Regions from separate parts of the Homo sapiens genome. Here region 1 is linked to region 2. Evidence: promoter capture Hi-C in 16 types of primary human blood cells and fetal thymus (Javierre and others, 2016). All regions are on one chromosome and are shown on one strand. Each heading gives the region's core, a stretch centred on a gene start or on the middle of the fragment in contact. The rest is flanking DNA. Distances are from core to core; before and after follow the strand shown.

The links. The method cuts DNA at HindIII sites, captures the fragments that hold promoters and counts their contacts. A CHiCAGO score of 5 or more calls a contact.
Region 1: a fragment that was not itself captured here is called in contact with the fragment with the promoter of DPP4 in region 2 in 1 of 17 cell types (fetal thymus); the score reaches 5.3 in fetal thymus.

What each region holds. Positions count from the first base shown.
Region 1 is chr2:161,320,160-161,324,848 of GRCh38, forward strand. All of the region lies in intron 3 of PSMD14 (proteasome 26S subunit, non-ATPase 14), which reads left to right. Among named protein-coding and RNA genes, the nearest start is that of PSMD14, 14 kb to the left of the region's middle. The HindIII fragment of the contact is 3,699 bases long and covers 231-3,929 here.
Region 2 is chr2:162,072,470-162,077,566 of GRCh38, forward strand. It overlaps DPP4 (dipeptidyl peptidase 4), which reads right to left and starts at 1,746. Exons shown (of 26, transcript NM_001935.4): 1 at 1,507-1,746; 2 at 930-1,017. The coding sequence starts at 1,512. It overlaps DPP4-DT (DPP4 divergent transcript), which reads left to right and starts at 2,388. Exons shown (of 3, transcript NR_147697.1): 1 at 2,388-2,466; 2 at 3,009-3,142; 3 at 4,761-5,097. It also overlaps the pseudogene TIMM8AP1. RefSeq lists enhancers at 1,265-1,464, 1,899-2,596, a silencer at 1,615-1,874 and a promoter at 2,151-3,927. The HindIII fragment of the contact is 4,875 bases long and covers 1-4,721 here.

The DNA of each region.
Region 1 (4,689 bases), core at 830-3,329, 750 kb before region 2:
CAGAGGTGGTATGTAGATAGTGCAGATTTACCTGCAAATTATAGGTGAAGATGTTGCCTTAGAATTCTTAAGGAAAGTTGTATCAAATTTAAATATAAAAATAACTTTCCTTAAGCATAGATACAATAAATTACCCATCTTGGAAATCCATGCTGGAAAACCCCTGGACATGAAATAATGGTTTTACTGACCACAAATTGAGCTACATTATATGTCAATGGCGACTTCAAAGCTTTATATCAAGTGAAAAACTTAATGTTTTTTCAGTAACCTTATTGGTTTCTGATTAATCAGCCATTGTGTCCTTAGTTTGTACTCTTTTTTGAAGTTAAAAATCTGCTTAAGAATCATTTCATCTCAATTAGATGATAAACTCTAATTTGTGGAACTCTTATTTTTATGGTATCTCCCTTATCCTATACTAGGTGTAATTTTCTTTTTCTCTAAAATTTTATTTTATCTTGTTATAGGAATAATTTGACAAATACTTATGATGTTACTTTTGTAACATGAAACGTTAAGTGTATTTTTTTGCCTAATAAGAATGTTGTTTATTATTTATTTATTTATTATAATTTTTTTTTGAGATGGAGTCTCACTCTGTCGCCCAGGCTGGAATGCAATGGCATGATCTCGGTTCACTGTACCCTCTGCCTCCTGGGTTCAAGTGATTCTTCTGCCTCAGCCTCCCAAGTAGCTGGGATTACAGGCGTTCACCACCACGCCCAGCCGATTTTTGAATTTATAGTAGAGACTATGTTTCACCATGTTGGCCATGCTGGTCTTGAACTCCTGACCTCAAGTGATCCACCTGCCTCGGCCTCCCAAAGTGCTGGGATTACAGGCGTGAGCCACTGTGCCCAGACTATTATTTATTTTTAATAAGAAGTCAAAGATCTTTGGATTGATAATAGCTATCTTTTCATTAGATAAGGCATAGGCACCAATAGTAGTAAAAAAGGAGACACAAATTGGCCCTTCTCTCCAAAAATCAGTGGGAAATGTTATCTTACCATTTAATGGAAAAGGCAGAATTCCCTCCCAAATAGGAGCAGGTCACTTGCTGGTAAGTTTGTAGATGGCCCTCTTAAAATGTGGCAGTAGACAGGAGCAGAACAGGTAAAGGCCTCATATGATTGAGAGTTCCTTAAGGTTATTTTATTTCCTTGATTGAAGAACAAGAACCATGGACATTTTATGAGTGAATAGGCCACCTTAAATCATGATCTATACGAATAACCCAATTTTGATGAACGAAATGTCCAAGACATATTTTTTTTTATATCAGTGTCCAAACAGTTGCTACTTTACTGGCTTGAAGACATTTTGTTTCACTCCCAATTGACACAAACCTGGCGGTTACTGTCAGACTCTGCAAGTTAAAGGCTCACTTCTCCACAGAACTACCCTTACTTCAGATGCCAGCTATACTTCATGTGTCCCCAAGCCATCCACACTTTGGACTGACACTTTAACCTGAGTATAAATTTGGAGGTCCTCACAACCTCCTCAGGTTTGATAATTCACTAGAACAACTGACAAAACTCAAGAAAGTGCTGTGCTTATTATTACAATTTTGTTATCCAGAAATACAGATTAGGAGGACCAGTGAAATGAAGACACACAGGATGGGGTCTGGGAGGAGATGCAGAGCTCCTGTGCCCTCTCTTCATGGAATTAGGGCATGTCACCCTCCCTGCACATCAGTGAGTTTACCAGCCAGGGAACTCCACCTGGTGTAGCTTTGGTTTCCGAGTTTTTATTGGGACTCGGCATACATGAGCTTGATTGATTAAATCATTGGGTGATCAAACTCAAAATTCAAATCTCCATCCTCCCTTCCCAAATGGGCCTGGCTCAAAGTCTTAGCCCTCTAATTACCGTGTTGGTCTTTATGTTGATCAGCCCTCATCTGCAAGCTATCTAGGGGTGTGCACTAAGTCACAGTGTTAGCATAACAAAAGAAACTCCAAGGGTTTTTGAGGCTCTGTGCCAGAAACTCAGGATAAAGACCAGATTATTACGCAACAAAGACTTGTTTTCAGCCTTGACTTCATTATTTGTAGAAACAATTCAGTATTTCATTTGAATTTTTCTTGTACTATGATACTGATTTTTATGTTGTTTCCAAGAGACATGACCCCACCTTGAGTCCCAGTGCCTTTAATATAACCCAGTAGTAGTAAAAAGGTCTTTGGGCTTTGCTCTATATGCTAATTGGTCATGTTATTGTTATTATTATTATTTTGAGTCAGAGACTTGCTTTGTTGCCCAGTCTGGAGTACAGTGGTATGATCTCAGCTCACTGCAGTCTCGCCCTCCTGGATTCAAGTGATTCTCCTGCCTCAGCCTCGCAAGTAGCTGGGATTACAGGCATGAGCCTCCACGCCCAGCTAATTTTTTTATTTTTAGTAGAGGTGGGGTTTCACCAAGTTGGCCGGGCTGGTCTTGAACTCCTGACCTCAAGTGATCTGCCCACTGCAGCCTCCCAAAGTGCTTGGATTACAGATGTGAACCATTGCGCCCGGCCTGGTCATGTTTTTTTAATGGAGGAATTCACAGTAATAATATAGGAATATCAGTATTATAATCACAGTTGATACTGATATTTCATTGTTTTTGAGGCCACTTGGTCTTAGTTGTTTTATTTGGGAGTTGTAGTAGGGCTAGTAGGTAAAAAAGGAACTTGTAAATAATCAAAGTCCCCATTCATTCTAGTTTCTTAATTTTCTCTAAATAGGAGGTGACTTTTCTCTTTTCCAAGGCTATTCCTTCCTTGTTCTTGGATCTCGTTCTCTTGACACACTGCAGATCTCCATTGACCCCTTTCTCTGCCTACAAAGATGTTTAAGTCTCCTGTATCCAAAAACCAAAACTCTACTGCATACTGCCATTAAACCTTTTCTTCTATTTATTTCTAGAATTCCTGAAATAATAGCTTAAACTCCATAATCTACTTAATTACCTCTGTTCACTCACATGAGAATGCATTCTGGCCAACTCCTGTATTACTGTACTGGAATTTTTTAAACTGCCAAGTCTATTGGCCTATTTTTAGTTCTCTTTTAACTAAACTTCAATATTCCACACTTACTATCTTAAACCTTTCTTTTCCATTAGTTTTTATCATGCTGTCTTTTCCTGTTTCTCATTACGGTGTCCATTCCTACAAAACAACTAAGTTTTATTTTTTTTAATATCACATTTTAAAATGTTAATATTGGCCAGGCCTGGTGGCTCATGCCTGCAATCTCAGCCCTTTGGGAGACCGAGGGGGCAGATGACATAAGGCTAGGAGTTCAGGACCAGCCTGGCCAACATGGGGAAACCCCATCTCTACTAAAAGTACAAAAATCACCTGGGTGTCGTGGTGCACATCTGTAATCCCAGCTACTCAGGAGGCTGAAGCAGGAGAATCACTTGAACCCAGGAGGTGGAGGTTGCAGTGAGCCAAGGTAGTACCACTGCACTCCAGCCTGGGTGACAGAGTGAGACTATGTCTCAAAAAAAAAAAAAGTTAATATTTGAATAGTGATAGGCTACAATAATTAAATTTGTCCTCAGTCCTCCACTTCAGTTTAACTTACCAGTAGTTTGAAGCAGAAATAAAGATGTTTTATTAGTACTATTAAAATTTATAAGGTAACAGCTTTAAATTTTAAATGTATTTTTAGATTTTCTTTGTTAAAATGCTTACAAACTTGAAATTACTAAAAGGTATGAGATTATTGTATTAAAAACATATGTTGCCATAATTTGGCTACTTCGTTGTCTTTATAACAACTCCACCTAGGTCTTGGCATCTAAACGATTTCCAAAAGCAGTGGAAACAGAGCCCAAGAGATGAGAATAGCCAAAGCATATTCTGTACTTTTTAAAAATTTTGATTTCTCCCTGGGTTCATTTTAGCTTTGGAAATAGTCAATATAAGCTTGAAAGTAGATGGAACTTAAGCAAAATGTCAGTGGCATTTAGTAACTTGTCTTCAGTTTTAATTTGTTAAGTCAATATTTTGAGTTTCTGTGTATCAGGTATTATATACTATAACGAATTCCAAGACGAACAAGAATATCAATGCCTAATCCAGAGCCTTACATTATAATAGACACACAAGCAATCATGTTTTAAGTGCCTAGTACACATTAACTACTTTGAATCAGTGAAAGCTAATGCTCATTGTAAATAACGTGATTTGTAAGTACAGTGGAGGTTAGTTTAACTTCTTTTGGGAAAAATTAGACCAACTTGGGAAAAATGGGAAAAATGAGACTAAGGAGATGATGTTTGAGCTGAGTTTTGAAATATGTGTCAAGGCATATTCAAAAGGCTAGAGAATAGATACATAAGAAAATACTGGGAAAAGAAGTTGGTAAAGGAGTCTGAAGTTGGTTATGAAAGGTGTTGAATGCCATACTTGGTGATTTTTACTTTTTTCCCCTAGGTGTTGTAGTTTCATGAAGATTTTCTTTCTTTCTTTTTTTTTTTTTTGAAGTATGAAGATTTTTTTTTTCTTTCCAGTAGACTTGTGAGGTAATTTGATCTGTGTTTTTGAAAAGTAATTCTAGTGGTAGTTTGGAGAACAGGTAAAGGGGAAGAGATTAAAGGCAAAGTCATCAATTACATGAATATTTGTGACTTTCAACCTTCCAGGCATATAACAGGATTATATTTTTCTGTCATCTTTGAAGT
Region 2 (5,097 bases), core at 496-2,995:
ACAATCTAATTCTGAACTGTCATCCTAAAATCTAGATAAGACTCCTTGAGTATGCAAGCACTGACTATACATTCCTCAGTTGACTAAATCTTCCAGAGAGAATGCTTTAACTGGCTGACTAATTTATAGTGTGTAATGCTGAAATGAAAGCAAGTGTTTAAAAGGAAAGTAAGGCCAGGGGAGACTGAAACTAGTAGTTCTCACTTGCTTGCATCCTACAGTGAGTATTCCATTATGTGAGTGTTTTATACATTTAGGCAAGCTAAAAAGACATGAAAGTCCTTAAATAAAAGAATCCACCAAAACATCACTGATTCCAGACCCTTCTTAAATATTATCGTGTATACCAGCTTTATTATTTAGCTCTGCAATACTGCTAAATTGGTCAATTACTTCCCTGCCTCCCCACCCTCCAACTGAATTCTCACCACCCTTGAGGGAAAACAGTCTGGGTTCCCTGTGGAACATCATTTCTCAAAACTGTATTTTGGGGCTTGCTTTCTCATTTTTCCTTTCCATTTCAGATATCCTTACTGCTGTCTTTGGGCTCTTTAAACACTGCCTTTTTTCCTTTTTCGATCACACCCAAAAACTTTTCTCAAAAATTACATGTAAATTTAAAAATTTACAAATTAAATTTAAAATTGAAATTTTAAAAATCCCGACTCTCCCTAATTTCAGGAAGCATGCATTTATTATACATAACAAGACGTGAAAGCCGCAAGAGTTTCAGCCTAAACACTGAAGACCCCGCGAAGTGAATCCAGCTGCTGCTCTACAAGCAGCAACAACAACTGGGAAGCCTTCTCAGCTACACTTCGGGGCACTGGTCCAACCCCACGCAAAATCCCTCGTTTCCCTTAGCGTGGTAAGACGGAGCCTGACCTGAGCTCCAACTGTCCTATCTTTTTCAAATGTTTCAAACTTACTGCCTTTGTTCAGCAGAACCACGGGCACGGTGATGATGGTGACAAGCGCAGCAGCACCCAGCAGTCCCAGAAGAACCTTCCACGGTGTCTGCAAGCCGAGCAGATCAAGTCCAATTAGAGGGAAGCGTGTGGCCCCAGTTTCCGTAGGAGGGTCGGGGCTGCTCCAGAGGCAGCAGGATTTGCAGGTGGGAGTGCGTTAGAAGAGGGAGACCGCGGGCTGGGGGTGGGGGTGGCGTCTGGAGTGCGCCAGTTGGAGTTCTCTAAGGCGGGTGCCCTTGAACTTGTGCCTTCAGAGCACATTAGCGTTGGTTTCTCTACCCCTGCCCGGGTTCGGGCGTGCGTTCTGTGAGTGGCTCTCCGGGACATTCAAAGCTCGACGCCAGGGTCCTAGCAGAAGCCAGGGTCCGAAAGCTAAGCGAGAGCTCTGGGACGTCCCTTCACCTGTCAGAGGGTGGCCTTGGGGCTTCCGCCTAAGGGGAGTCCCTGGTCCGGTTTCGCCAGCTTTTGGGCCATTTGGGGAGTTTGGCGAAGAGGTCCCCACAGCTCGCCCCGGGGACGTACGTGGCGCGGCACTCACCTTCATCGTCGGCGTCTCCTCGGAAGTGAGCGTTCAGAGAAGGAGCGCAGGCAGAAGTCACCGCGGGCGGCGGAGACGCGCGTCCTGCACCGCTGCTCCGGGCGGTGGAGTCACTCGCCGCTGGCAAGTTTCGGCCCCGAGTTAAACATTAGTGAGCGCCGAGCCCGCTGGGTATAAAGGCGCCGCGGGCAGGCTGCAGGGCAGGCGGCGCGGGAGCAGGCGCGCGTGGCGCGGGGCACTGGCATCCCGGCCGGGGGGAGCCCGCGAGGGCCCCCTGAGGGCGGTGTAGGGCGCTGGGCGGCAGCCGGGGCGCAGAGTGCGGGGCCCGGAGGAGCCGTGGGGGAGGGGAAAGGGCGCGCGGCCTCGGATGCGCAGACCCTGGGCCGGCGACTCGGGGACCCTGCTCCCTCTTAGCTAAAAATGACGTCGGCGTTCAGCTCCTCCAACCTCACGTGGACAGGCGAGGGAACCGAGACCCAGAGAGGGCAGGGGACTTTGGCAAACTCACACAGCCCACCGCAGGCAACTGGAACTGAAACCCAGGACTCCGTCTCTTGCCAGTGAAAGTTATGTTAGGAAGCAGTGAGGGGTCTAAAGCAGTATGAAAGGCAAAGAGAAAAGGTGATTGTTCCCTCTTGAATGGCCCTTGGAAGCTGAGTATCTGGATTCACCCTCCCTAGGGAATTTCCCGATTGTCTTGCAGGCTTACACACTCATCAAGATGACAAAAATAATGACAGTAACACTTATGTGGAACTTGACTTTTTCCCAGGTGCTGCTCTAAGCATTTACTGTGTTTGTTTTACAGGAAGGAAGACTGTACACAGAGAATAAATAACTTGGCCAAGCCATTCAGCTAGGAAGTTGTAGATCCTAAATTAAGAGTTCAAGGTCTTAATGGCTACTCTATGCGGCCTCTCATAGTCTTTTCAAGGGTTTTGGAGAAGAATAAAAGATCAGGTATGGCTTCTCCCTCCCCCAGCTCTCTATTGTTCCCTAAAGGATTATTCATTCGTTCATTCATTCCTACATCCTCCCATTTATTCCAGTCATCCACAGATGTTTGAGTGGTTACAATGTGCCAGCCTCCCTTCTAGGTACTGGAGATAAAGTGGGACAAGAGAGGTGAGGTCTGGACCCTTGGCACTTTCACGATAAAATACACAGGTAAACATTTGCCTTTAGGGCCCCCTGTGATTACTTCCACTCTTGCAGATAAGAGGATAAGGCCTCTTCAGCTTGTTCACAGCAGCTGAAAAGCAAAGCCTCTCTGTCAGTAGAGGTAAAAGATTAAGAATGCAGAGTCCGATGGGGCATTACCACATGATTATGAATTAATGCAATTTTCCATCTTTTATTTCCAATCCAGGCATTGCTTTTGAACTCAGTCATCTTTTCCCCCTTGCCCACTAGTTGCTTGTGATACATCAGTATCCTCACTCACCCCCAACTCCAGAGGCTGAAACTAACTCTCCTCCTCCCTCTTCCAACTGCTGAGGAAGATGAGTCAATGGTGTTACTGGACCCTGTGAACTGATGCTGTGAAGAGAGGCCATTTAACACGGACTACGGGGAATGGTGCCACAGGGGGCTCAGTGCTGCCCTTCACTCTCAGCATTTTGCTCACTCAGCATTGGTAAGCCACATCAGCCTCGGTGAAGGAAGTCTGGAGAGTTAAGCCTGTGCTTCATCTCCATGCCAGCACCATGGCACTCATTGTACATTCAGCAAGCCCCAAGGAAGCTGGCAGGAGGCTGGCTGACATCTACGGGACAGGTCAATTTGTTCTCTGGAGGGCACTCCATGAGACGCAAATATCTTCACACCCTGTGCCCATTTCAAGAGACTCTCTCACATGCCTCCCCCACCTTGACCTCTGTGTCACCAGTCTTTCAATCTTGTTTTTTCCAAATCCTTAAGGTAGCAGCTGGCCAACACATTAGCCACCACTGATGAGTCAGTGTAGATCTTACATTGGGCCATCTCTTTTTTCTTGCAAAATAGAAAAGCAGATGTTCTGCTCAAAGTTCTGTTTGTCAGTAAGATTTCCCTTTCTGCTGTGTTTCAGGACATCCCTGGGAGGGACTCTGATGCAGCAGCCATCTACTTATTGCTAGTGCCAGCTTACTTTGCATAACATTGACTCCTTTCCCTCATCTGTTGCCTAGTTGTAGGAAACTCCTTGTGAAGCTATAGGTGTGCACTGAGGGAGAGACATTGAGTCAATGGGAGCAGGCATCATAGAGTCTAAGTTTTCTGCTAGTCTGAGTTTCTTGTGCCTTGTGGACCTGGTGGGCTTATCTCCTTTATCATATAGATACAATTTTCGCTTAATAATAGCATGCTCCTGCAAATGCCCAATTTTATCATGTGGTAGATTAGGCAACACTCAGTTTATTAGGGTAGCTAGGTTGTGCAGTTACTTGATGTTATGGATTGAATTGTGTCCCTCCAAAAGATATATTAGAATCCCAACCTTTAGGACTTCAGAGTGTGACATTATTTGAATATAGGGTCTTTACAGAGTTAATCAATTTTTTTGAATCTTATATAGCTTTTATTTCAGTGATCAAAAGAATGCAGTAAATGGAATCTACACTAATTAACATTAGGCATGCACCTCTACCTGAAACTGCTGTTAGCTTATGATTGGCCTAAATCTTTATAACTTATTTAGGCACATCATTGAATTTTTTGTACCCTGATATACAGGGTAAGTTAATTTCTTCCTTGTGGCAGTCTAGTAATAAGAATTATGTTCACTGGCTAGATTCCTTTAAAACTAAAGACCTCTAGACTCTCAGGCTGCCTACCTTACCTTGAGACTATACTTAATATGGATATTTAAGCAAATCATCATATAGGAAAGGGAGATCATCAAGAAAACTGAAGTGTACTGTATAAACACTCTTACAGATATTTTTCTCCAGCATTGATAATCAAACACTAGATAAGGATACTAAATTATTCTTCCCCCACTTCTGCCCTTTCTGAAAAACACAAGGATCTCCCTTGAAATCGAAATGACTCCACACAAATGAGAGATTTTTATGTATGTGGTCCCACTATCAAAATAATAGGAAGCAGTTAATGGGGCTTTGAGAAAAGCATAGTCCCGTGTACAGTAATATGCATCTAAATAGAGTTTTCCATTCACCTGTCAATTATTTTCACAAGATTAGCATTAAAAAATACAAGCAAACATATGACCCTTAAGCTTCACACACAAAAAATTGGTCTTTGTTCATTCTCAGATGACAGGATGTCCCAAAAGTAACAAAAGATGGGAGCCAGTCCTCTCATAGCTGTTTCTTCAATCATCCCATCAACAGCTCTTCATTTATTGAACTACCTTCCTTTTCCAAAGAGGTAATGCTGAGATCAGTCAGAAAGGCTTTCTGAGAAAACTGGCTTGGATTTCTGGGTCTGTTGCAGTCAATTCAAGATGAACTGGCTTGTATCAATGAAGCGCTCAATGCAGTTCACAAAACAGGCCTCAGCCCGACTGTCCAACTTTGGCCCAGGCTTGTCCATGCACTTCTCCCAACAAAGTTCAGTCATCTGGTGCACCAGCTGCTGGAAGCGCTGCTT